Linked DNA regions of Homo sapiens: region 1 is linked to region 2. The links are contacts of gene promoters, found by promoter capture Hi-C in human tissues and cell types (Jung and others, 2019). All regions are on one chromosome and are shown on one strand. The core of a region is centred on a gene start or on the middle of the fragment in contact, and the rest is flanking DNA. Distances in the headings are between cores, read along the strand shown.

Region 1 (5,178 bases), core at 2,585-5,084, 370 kb before region 2:
GGGGCCCACAAAGGCTGGAGACTTGGGTGGTGGTGACAGGAGCTGGGGTGGGGGCAGTGGGAGCAGGGCTGGGGTACCCAGGGCTGGAGGGTGCTTCTCCTCGCCCTCCTCACAGTGAGTACCCAGGTTGCCACCAAAGCTGATCTTAGAGACCTCAGCATCCTCGGGCTGTTTGGGGTCCAGGGCAGCAGGGCAGGGTGGCAGGGTGGCCCCAGGCTCTGCCTGCTCTTCCTCAGGGCCTGTAGGGGGCTTCCTCAGCATGGTCTCAGGTTCCCAGGGGGGGCGCAGCAGGCGTAGGCTGGAGCGGGCCACCCACACAGCCTCCTCTGGCTCACGGTGCAGTGGCTGTGGGGGCTGCGGGAGGCTGCCTGGTAGGCCTGGCTGGGAGCTGGGGCCAGGGCTGAGACGGACCTTGTAGGCAGCTGGCTTGGTGGCCACCTCCACCACCACACCTTCCCGGTAGGCAGCCACGCCGGGCTCCACACAGGTACAGACAGCTGTGCCCACCACCAGGGCACCTGGTGGGGGTGTGGCATCCAAAACTACATCCACACCAGCGCCTGGCACCCCCTCATAGAAAGTCAGGGCTCGGTCACCAGGGAACTGCACGCCCAGGTCCTGGCTTCGGCGCACCTGGCGCACCACAGCCGGCAGGAAAAGGCCATCACCACGCCGAGCCAGCACCCGCTGGGACCGCAGCTGCCGCAGGTCATAGCTGCCACTGGTGCTGCCAGGGGGCCAAGGGCCTGGACCACAAGCCTCAGCCGGCTCATCCTCCAGGTCCGCCGAGTGCTCGCTGGCTGTGTCAGTGGAGGAGGAACGAGTGGAGGTGGGTGGCCGTGGAGGCACCCCCAGGCCACTGGCCTCCTCAGGGGTCCGCACCCGCTCTTCAGGGGCCCCAGCCACCCCACTGCTGCCAGCTCCGTGCTCCTCCACATACTTCTTCTTGGGCGCTCGAGACTTGAACGTGGCTGTCTTGCGGCTGAGTGAGGGCTCCCAGCGGCCTGCCTCCCCATCCCCTTTGGGGTCCTCTGCTGGGCCTGGAGCCGGGTCGCCAGGGTGCAGCTCCAGTGGAGGACCTTCAGCCCCAGGGCCCCGCTCAGCCTCCTCCTCCTCCCCTTCCTCAGCCTCTTCGGGCCCGGACTGTGGTTGCGGCTGCTGTGCCTCGTCATCCTCCTCCTCTGGCTTGTCACCCTCCCCAGCCCCTCGCCGCCTCAGAGCCTTGGCCCTGGTGGCTGGGGGGGACTTGCTGCCACTGCCAGGACCTGAAAGGCCAGTGCATGCCTTCTTCATTGGCTTCATTTTTGTCCACCTGCAGGGTGGGAGAGCGGAGGATTACGCGGAGCAACTCAGGAACCTCTCCAGAGCCAGTGTACCCTAAGATTTCCCACTTGCTGAGTCTACTGTCTCCATCCCACCATCCCCAAGGCCTCCTCTCTGGCTGCTGTCAACTCATGTGATACCTCAGTCAGCACCAGGCACAGGTGAGCACCTGAGTCCCCTGAGTATACACACTCTGGCTCCTTGGGGAACAGACACCTGCTGGCTCTGCAAAGGACACAGAGCACATGCTCTGAATGCCCCAAGGGGACATCAAAAGCACTAACAGTTCACACCTATGGAGCACTCCCTGTGTCCTGAACTCCATGCTAAGCTTGCCTTTATTAACCTGTTTCATCCTCACAACAGCCCTAAAAGCAGGTGCTACTATCGGCCTCATTTCACACCTGAGGAAACTGAGCCACAAAAAGATGAGACAACTTGTCCAAGATCATCCAGGTGGGAAACAGCAGTGCTAGGGTCTGAACCCAGGCTCTCTGGCTCCAGAGTCCGTGCTCCTGACCATTTCAGTGTGCTGCCTGTCACATGATCCAGAGGGCACATTTACTCGCACTGTCACCATGCAGAGAGTACATGCACTCAGACACACACACACATGCACAAGTACCAAGTCACAAAAAGGGTGGTGACTGGGCTGTGATATGAGCCTTTCTCCACCCCCCCACCCTCCCTCTGCCCCTCTGGGCAGCCTGGCATGGCCAGGCACTGTGGGAAGAAGTGGGCAGCTGAGAGTCCCGAGGGACGGCTGCCCACTCTGCTCTGCACCCTAGGGCTGCCAGGTACAGCCATCTCCCCAGATCCTGGCAGGGAGCAGGCAGGGGCATGTCTGGGGCAAGAGCTCATACCCAGCACTGCCACGGGGCCGTGCATGAGCACACGCACGCGCACAAACACACACACACGCACAGAAGCACGCACACGTCATCACACAGTGGGACACAGAGCTACACCCCAGGGTTTCTCTGTCCCACTGGATGGGAGCCTGCTCCTCCCCCCACAGCACCCAGCGTGATACCCGCAAGCCCAGCCCCCCTCTTCTTGCCTGCATGCATCCCCGCCCTGGCTGGGCTGGCTCTGGCAGGGTGGCTGAGTCGGCTAGCCCCCCGCAGGCCCCCAAATATGCCCTCCAACTCCAAGTGGGGATAGGTGGGATAAGGTCAAAGAAAGCAGGACAAGCCCAACAGGCCAACCTCACCCACTTCCTGAACAGTCATTACTGCCCGCCCCCTTTCGAGCTGCCCTGAGAAAAGAAAAGGGGAAAAAACTTTACTCTGAAGTGACTAAGAGAACCTGAGAGGCCAAAACAGAGGCCTCTAGGAGGGTTGGGGGACCCAGAACCATAAGCCAAACACAATGAGAGGCAACCCCGACTCAGTCTTCCAGCTACTGGGGGACCCTTGACCTCATGCTCTCTCACTAGGGGCCTGCTCCTCCTGTGGACCCTGGAGTCCCAGGCCTGCCCTTTCTTGGGCCAATCCTGGGGTCCTCACAGGCAGAGCCTGGAGGGCGTCCCGGGGCTGGCACCCAAATGCCCAGAAGTTGGGCAGCCATCACCACCTAATACCCGCTGACCCACTAGACTACCATGTTGGGGACTGAGATCTGGCTCCAGTTTTTTCCAAGCACAAACCTTTGCATACCCCACCCAGGGCCTACAACTATGCCGCCTGGACCCCTAGACCTTGCTGCCTGGCCCAGCCTCTCTTCGCCCCAGAGCTGCTTTCTTTCCCCTAGGGCCTACTCTCTTCCTGTCCACCCTGTCTGAATAACTCCCACCCAAGCCCCGGGGGCCCTCACCTTCCTCAGATCTGAGTAGTAACTCCCGGAGCCCAGGCCAGCCCAGGCCCTGGCTCTTTGGGGTCTCATACCCTCTGTTCCCATTAGCCCTCCTGGCACCAGCTTCTCTGACACTCTCTCTCTCATCCTGTCACTACCTCTATCTCTACCTCTCGGTTAAAATGCCCTAGGCCCCCTCCTGTCACCCCCTCCTTGTCACCCCCATTTATCTCTGTCACCTATTCCTCCCAGTCACTGTCCTGTCAGCCATCTCCGGACCTGTCACCTTCTCTCCCCATCACCTCTCCTTGTCACACTCTCCAACTCTGTCCCCTCCCTCTCCCTGTCACCCTGATCTAGTCCTGTCACCCCTCCATTCCTGTTACCCTTCTTTGCCCACCACCCCCTCCCCCAGTTACCCTTTTTCTGTCAAACCCCCACCACTTCCTCCACTCCCTCCTCCCTTCCCACCATTCCGCCCACCCCTTTCCCCCTGTACCCCCTCCCCGTCCCTGCCACCTGTCCCCTCTCGGCCCCCAGCCCCCCGGACCCCCCTTTCCTGTGTCAGCCCTGGCCCCGCCCCTCACCTTGGGCTCGGCGGGGTTTCGGGGCGGGGGGCCGTGGCCCCGGCTCGGTCCGGTCCGGTCCCTCCCCGCCCCCCCTCCGGCTCTCCCTCTCGATTCTCCCTTTTTTTTTTACTCCAACACACAAAATGGTGAATGGACCTGCAACAGCTGGAGCAGCCAGCCAATCAGCGATCACAACCCCACTGACCGGCGCCAGCCTAGACCAATAGATATCCGCAGACTGGTCGGCTCCGCCTCTCGACGACGAGCGACGCTCGCGGCGACCAATTGGGCCCATCGGGCAGCGCTAGGGGGCGGGGCCAAAGTCCAAGACCGGCCTCCCTCCGGGACCGACACCAACCTGAGCCTACGACTGCCTGATCTGCCTAGGGCCCTACCCTACAACAAGTGAAGGACACCAGTCGTGTCCAATTGCAGGCCGTCTTAGTTCCAAATGACAAATACAGTACCCAGTCGCCATGCAGCCTAGGCCGGAACCCAGCCTCTGTGAGGGACAGTAGCCAATGAAATGAAAGGAGGAGGGGCTAAGGGACGGGTTGTCCAATGAACGGAGGTAGAAGGCGTGGCCCGAACGTTTGTTGACCGGCTAGTCGCAGTTCCTGCTGGGAACCGTAGTCTTCTCACGTCTTCGGCCCATAGCCGACAGTACAAGGCAGACTACAACTCCCATGTGACAGAGTGCTTGGAGCACCAAAGAAACCCGGCGAGGAGAAAAAGTCGAAAAGGGCAGTTCGTCGTGAGTCTCACTGGACGCCAGGAGTATCTTAGACCCAGGGCCCCGACTCACCCGTATTCCTGGCTCTGGCGTCGCCGGTGGCTCCTCTCAGTGGCAGCGGTAGCGGCACGAGGGGGAGGTGCAAGGAGCAGCCAACCGCCACCCGCGAGCCCCGCAGCCAATCAGCAGCGGCCGGGGCGGTGCAATGACCTCACCGGTTCTACTCTCTTACCCCTCCCCCACGTGGTTGTTGCTGCCGGTAGACGGAGTAGGGAAGTTTGGATTGGGGGAGGGGAGGAGAACCAGTGATGTCACCTTTCCCCTTGTTGATTGGCTGCCGGGTGGCCGGGACTACGACCAATTGACGGTCTCGAAAAGTCTGGCGCGGCCCCGCGGAAAGCCCTGTTGCCACCGGGAGGGGAGAGAACGCGCGCTTGTGGGGTGTCGCGCGCTGCAGTATAGGCAACGCGCGCGGCCTGGGGCCCGGGGGACAGGTCACCTCCTCCAAGAGTTTGACATTTAGGACAGCGCAGTTTGACAGCCCACTAGGCATTGGGGCAGGGGGCCGAGATGACGAAATGCAGCGCTTCTTGGGGCTTCGCACTGCATTACGTGGAGAGCTACACTTTGTGGGTGTACGCCCCTGACAGAGGCAGATTTTTAAAGATCCCAGGGGTAGGAGGGTATCACACTGGAGTGGAGGAGGACAGGGAGATGCCCTGTTTGTAGTAGATGCCTGCTGCCCAGATACGGGTTTAC
Region 2 (5,134 bases), core at 2,607-5,106:
CCCCCTGTGCTGGCCCCAGTCCTGACACCCCCCCCATATAGGCCCCCCTGGGGACAGGGAGCTCAGAGCAATAACCCCGCCCCCAGCCCCCACCCAGGAGGGGCCCCCCTCCCCACCAGCTCCCCATGATCCCAACAGTCACCTCCAGAGAGTTTACTACAGAAATAAAAGAACAGAGAGTGAGACTCGGGGTGCCCAGTGCTGAGCATGGGGGATCGGGGGTGGGAGCTGGAGGGCGGTGTCAGGGAGACGCCTCATACCCAGTGTGTGTACGGAGTGCCTGGGGAGTAACGGTTCAAACAAAGAAATGAATGAATGAATGAATGAACAACTGGAGGGAGGCGCAGAGGCACAGACCCAGGATGTCAACGCCAGACAGTCACAGAGAGTTCCAGACGCCATGCCAGGCCCCACCCCGCCATCACACACACAGATCTCTTCTTAGATAATATATATTAAAAAATAAACCTCCAATTCAGGGTATAAAAACAGAGCGAAGGCACTTGGGGGTGGGGGTGGAGGGGTGGCCCCCACAGGCAATACTGAGATGGCCCGGGTCACCGTGGTGCCCTCCAGAATGGAGCCCTGAGTCCCCCAAGCAGAGGGCAGGAGGGAGAGATGGCCGAGGCTCATGCGGGGCCAGTAACCCCAGCTGGGCCCCTCCCAGGCGTGGCCCACAGCTCCCTCTCCTCAGGCCCTCGGGGTGTGAGATGCTGCGGCAGCTGTGTGGGTGGGGGTGGTCCCTCACGTCCTCTCCCCCATTCCTCTCCTTCTTGCAAAAGGCCTGGGGGATGTAGGAGAAGAGGGGAGACGGGGAGAGATGGAGAGAGAGACAGGGAGAGACAGACACAGAGACAAGACAGGGAGAGCAGAGAGAGAAGGGGAGGTGGGGAGAGGCAGGCGGGCACAGAGACAGAGAAACAGATTATCAGAAACAGAGACACAGAGATGAGAAACACGAGGTGGAGTGGGGAGATTCAGAAAAGACAAAGAGGGAGATGGACAGAAGGGGCTGTAGGGATGCGAGCTCTGGAGGGGGACCCTCCTTTCAGGACAGCGCCCTGGCCCCCAGGTGCCCCACTCACCTTCCTGGGCGGGAACCTCAAGTGCAGCCAGGCTGGGGGACAGAGTTCCCCCCAAGCTGAGACAGGAGGGGTCTCAGGCGGCAAAATTCCTCCTCCAACTCCTGGTGGGGTGGGGGTCATGGATGAGGGGGGCCCCTTCCTTCCCCAGCCCACTCAGGGCACCCCTGGCCCGTCCCGCCCCACCTCCAGCTGCTTCATGGTCTCCTCCAAGCTGAGCAGGTTCTCCTGGATTTCCTGGGTCCGTGCTGGGCTCAGGGGGCCGCCCCCTGGGACCCCATCCCCATCTCGAGGAGGCCCCGCCCCATTGTCTTCCTCCGCCGGAAACAGAAGCTGCTTCAGGGACAGCACTGGCCAGGGGCAAGGAGGGGTGGAGTCAGGAGACCAGGGGGCTGGGCTGGGATCTGGGATGGGGGATTCCAAAGGGGATGTGTAGGGGCTGGAGGTGAAGGTGGGTGCCAGGCAAGGCTGAGCAGATGGGGTTCGGGGATCCAAAGGGAGGTGAAGAAGTGAGGCTGGGTTTAGGGTTGGGACAGGGCAGGAAGGTACTGAAGACAGAGATGTGTTCAGGAAGAGGCTAAATATAGAATCAAGCAAGGGATGGTGGCTGCAGAAGAGGGACGTGGGCACCCAGGACAGTGGTGCAGGCTGGGTGGGTTTGGAGCATTTGTTTTCTGGCAGCTGGGCGTAAGGAAATTTTTGACGTGGAGAGCCTTGTTCTAGTTGGAACAGAGGCACTGTTTGGGCTGGTGGCCACCCTGGAGGGGCAGAGCTGGGCTACCTTTCCGAAGGGCCGTGGCAGCGAGCTGGCCCTCGGGGCCTGGTCTGCAGAAGGGCAGGAGGTCACTGAGGATTCTCTCGGTCCGGGCTGGATTGGGGAACAGAGAGGGAGCTCAGATCCTGCCGGGCCTCCTGTGGATGCCTCTCTTCACCCGGCAGCCCCAACCTGGCCCCTCACCCAGCATCCCTCTGGTCTCACCATCAGCTGGAGACGTCTCTCGGCCACCATTGCCGTTCTCAGAGCTGCTGAGGAGGGGTTCTCGGGTGCTGAGGGGAGGAAGTGCTGGGTGACCCCACACCCCTGGCCCTGGGGGGCCGCAGGGGCAGGGAGACAGAGAGCTGGAGGTGGGGAGGCAGGGAGGTCCGGAGACAGAGACAGAGGTCGAGGCCGGGAGACAGGGAGACAGAGAGGCCCAGACAATGGAAGACACAGAGGCCTGGAGACAGGAGACAGACGGGGCAGTGGTGGGGTCGGCACATGCGCACACACACACACATGCATGCACATGCTGTCACACGCATGCACACATATGCATACACACACACCATACACGCACACACATGCACACGCACACATGCATGCATACACACACTATATATGCACGCACAGTCACATACTTGCGTACAGACACACATGTATGCACACACATGCATTCACACATGTGCATGCTCACACAGAGACGGTTCTGGAGTTGTGGAGGGAAGCCTGCCCCGCCTTCCGGCCCCACTCCCTGAACCTCCAGCTCTCTCCATGGCCCCCCTCACCTGCTCGGGCTGGGCCGGGGCTTAGGGCGAGAGGCAGGGGCAGGGACTTTCAGGGATCCGGCAGTCTCAGTGATGAGAGCACACCAGCTGGGGAGAAAGGCCAAATCCCTGGGCAGTCAGAGCCCCCAGACCCTATGCCAGGGCCTCCCCACAGCCCTCCTGTCCCTGGGAACCCAGAAACCTGGGCGTCCTCCACCCACACTCAGAACTCAGACCCCCCCTCACTTTTTCCGCTCCGACACAGTCTGTGCCACCAGCTCGTATATCTGGGCCTCCTGGTCCCAGGTAAAAAGGACGTAGAAGGCTTTGTGATCTGCAGGGAGAGGGGGAGATGGGGCTCAGAGCCCAGGTCCCCCCAGTGCCTGCCCCTCCCTAAGCACAAGCTGGAGAAGTCACCCACAGTGGTGGCGCTCTCAGGGCTCCCATGGCTCAACTCACCACTCACTGTCTGCTAATATCCAGGGCCCGATGTGTCCTCCTGAGCCCCACCTCTCACACCTCCTTATGGAATCGGGCATGTACCCTGGCTTACCTAACGAAACCCCTCCAGCCACTCCCACCCTCCAGCCGCTTCCAGTGTTTGTGGCCCTGGTGCAACTTCCTAGTAGTATGTTTACAAATCCCTCCTCACTGGACTCCTGGCCTTTCTTCTCCTTGTTTACACAAGACACGCCTCTGTGCAAACACCTGCAGCAGTTCCTACCTCACTTATAAACCCTCTAGGCCTGGCCCCGCCCTGCCCACCTCCACCTACTTCTCAACCTCTTTGCTAGAATGCTGGCTCCCTGGCTCTCTAGAGGGTTCTGCTCCCCACTCCACAGGCAGCTCTGCCCAAAAAAGACACCCTCTGCCCTGGGCCATGCAGTGGCTGCACTCACCGGTGGCCACCTCGCGGGTCATGGCGGAGGTGAGCCGCAGCACGGGCCGCAGCATGGTCTTGCCATCGGGCGTGGGCGTCAGTGTCCGGCTATGGGACTTGAGCAGCAGCCGCTCGTCCTGGCGCTGGAGCAGCAGCAGCAGGTCGTCCAGCAGCAGCACATGCACCTCTACGGGGCGAGCAGTGCTCACACGGCGTGCCCCCGCGCGACCCCCTCCCCGCCCTTGGCTCACTGCCCCAACACCCTGCACTAGGCAGCTGCTCTGGCACTCACCCACTGCCTTGTCCTTAGTCACCCGCCACGTCAGTGGGCCCTCGTGGACCAATTTCTTCTTGGTGATGTCCAGGTTCTGGGGCAGGAGGGGGTGATGGTTTGTGCAGGTTGGCAGGGGGTGATTGGGGTTGGTGGGGAGGGGAAGGGCAGGGCAGTGGCCGGGGATGACCACAGGCTGGGGATCATGGGATTGGCATGAGGTGGGGGACAGAGCTCTCGCTTCCTGGGTGTATTATGGGATGGGCAGGACAGGCTGGGGGCTGTATCACAGAATCCCCTGGGCCAAGGAGTAGGGGGGCGGGGGAGGCAGGAGGGTATGGTCACACCTTGAACTCGCTCAGCATAGGGTCGCTGCTCTGCCGAAGGTGGGACAAGTCCAGGCGCCGCTGATAGTCCTTGAGCCTCTGGGGCAGAGACGGGAGCATTATGGGGACAAGCTAAGTGCTGGGGCTGACCTGCAGTGACCCACATTGGTAAGATGAGAGCCAAGACCAACTTCTGATGCGGGCAAGCTGAGGGTTGGGCCTGACCTCCAATGACCCTGAGAGGGAGATGCTGAGGGCCAAGCCAACCCCTGGACACAGTGACCCTTGAGGGAGACAAGCCAAGGGGTGGGGTGTGACTTCTGGACAGGCTGAGGTAGGGTCCACCCCCTGCTCTCACACCATCCACTGTCCCGGGTGTGGGGCCAGCCCAGGCTCACCAGCAGGTCCTCCATGTCACGCACGGCTTGGTTGACGTGGTGTAGAATTTCCCGGCAGCACTCGGCTGCCAGCTCCACTTTCTCCCGTTCTGTGGGCTCTTCTGCAGGCAAGGGAGAGAGCAGCTCTGGTGAACCCCTGCCCTGGAGGCTCCAGATTGGGCAGCCAAGGTTAGACAAAGGACAGCTGGCCGGGCATGGTGGCTCACGCCTGTAATCCAAGCACTTTGGGAGGCTGAGGCGGGAGGATAGCTTGAGACCAGGAGTTCAAAGCCAGCCTGGGCAACATGGCGAGACCCCGTCTCTAAAAAAAAAAACTAAAAAAATTAGCTGGGCATGGTGGTGTGCCCTTGGGGTCCCAGCTACTTGGGGAGCTGAGGTGGGAGGATGGTAGATCCTGGGAGGTTGAGGCTGCAGTGAGCTGTGATGGTATCACTGATGAAAATGAGTGAGAAAAAAAATGTAAAAAAAAAAGAGGAGAGCCGAGGCCCAGAGATCCAGGCCCGCGGTACCTGTGTTCTGCCCGATGCTCTGCAGGAGCAGGGGGTACTTGGTCAGCCGCTGCATCTCCGTGGGGATCATGTCCTTCAGCTGCAGGCGGCGGCACCGCGGGCGGCTCTCAGCTTCCTGCGGGAAACATGCTGGTGTTGCGATGG

The links. The method cuts DNA at HindIII sites, captures the fragments that hold promoters and counts their contacts. A contact is called where the count stands out against the background at its distance.
Region 1: the fragment with the promoter of CIC here is called in contact with a fragment that was not itself captured in region 2 in 2 of the 25 tissues and cell types used here (dorsolateral prefrontal cortex and lymphoblastoid cells).

Annotation. Positions count from the first base shown.
Region 1 is chr19:42,267,908-42,273,085 of GRCh38, reverse strand. It overlaps CIC (capicua transcriptional repressor), which reads right to left and starts at 3,834. Exons shown (of 21, transcript NM_001386298.1): 1 at 3,705-3,834; 2 at 1-1,312. The coding sequence starts at 1,302. RefSeq lists enhancers at 2,126-2,175, 4,335-4,844. The HindIII fragment of the contact is 15,630 bases long and covers 1-5,178 here.
Region 2 is chr19:41,902,755-41,907,888 of GRCh38, reverse strand. ARHGEF1 (Rho guanine nucleotide exchange factor 1) reads right to left here. Exons shown (of 29, transcript NM_004706.4): 18 at 4,991-5,105; 19 at 4,482-4,582; 20 at 4,105-4,182; 21 at 3,779-3,854; 22 at 3,506-3,673; 23 at 2,853-2,940; 24 at 2,628-2,714; 25 at 2,062-2,129; 26 at 1,864-1,950; 27 at 1,269-1,432; 28 at 1,086-1,186; 29 at 437-784. The coding sequence ends at 1,103. ERFL (ETS repressor factor like) reads left to right here. Exons shown (of 6, transcript NM_001365103.2): 6 at 1-185. Among named protein-coding and RNA genes, the nearest start is that of ARHGEF1, 22 kb to the right of the region's middle. RefSeq lists enhancers at 1,706-2,310, 2,916-3,520, 3,521-4,126. The HindIII fragment of the contact is 9,702 bases long and covers 1-5,134 here.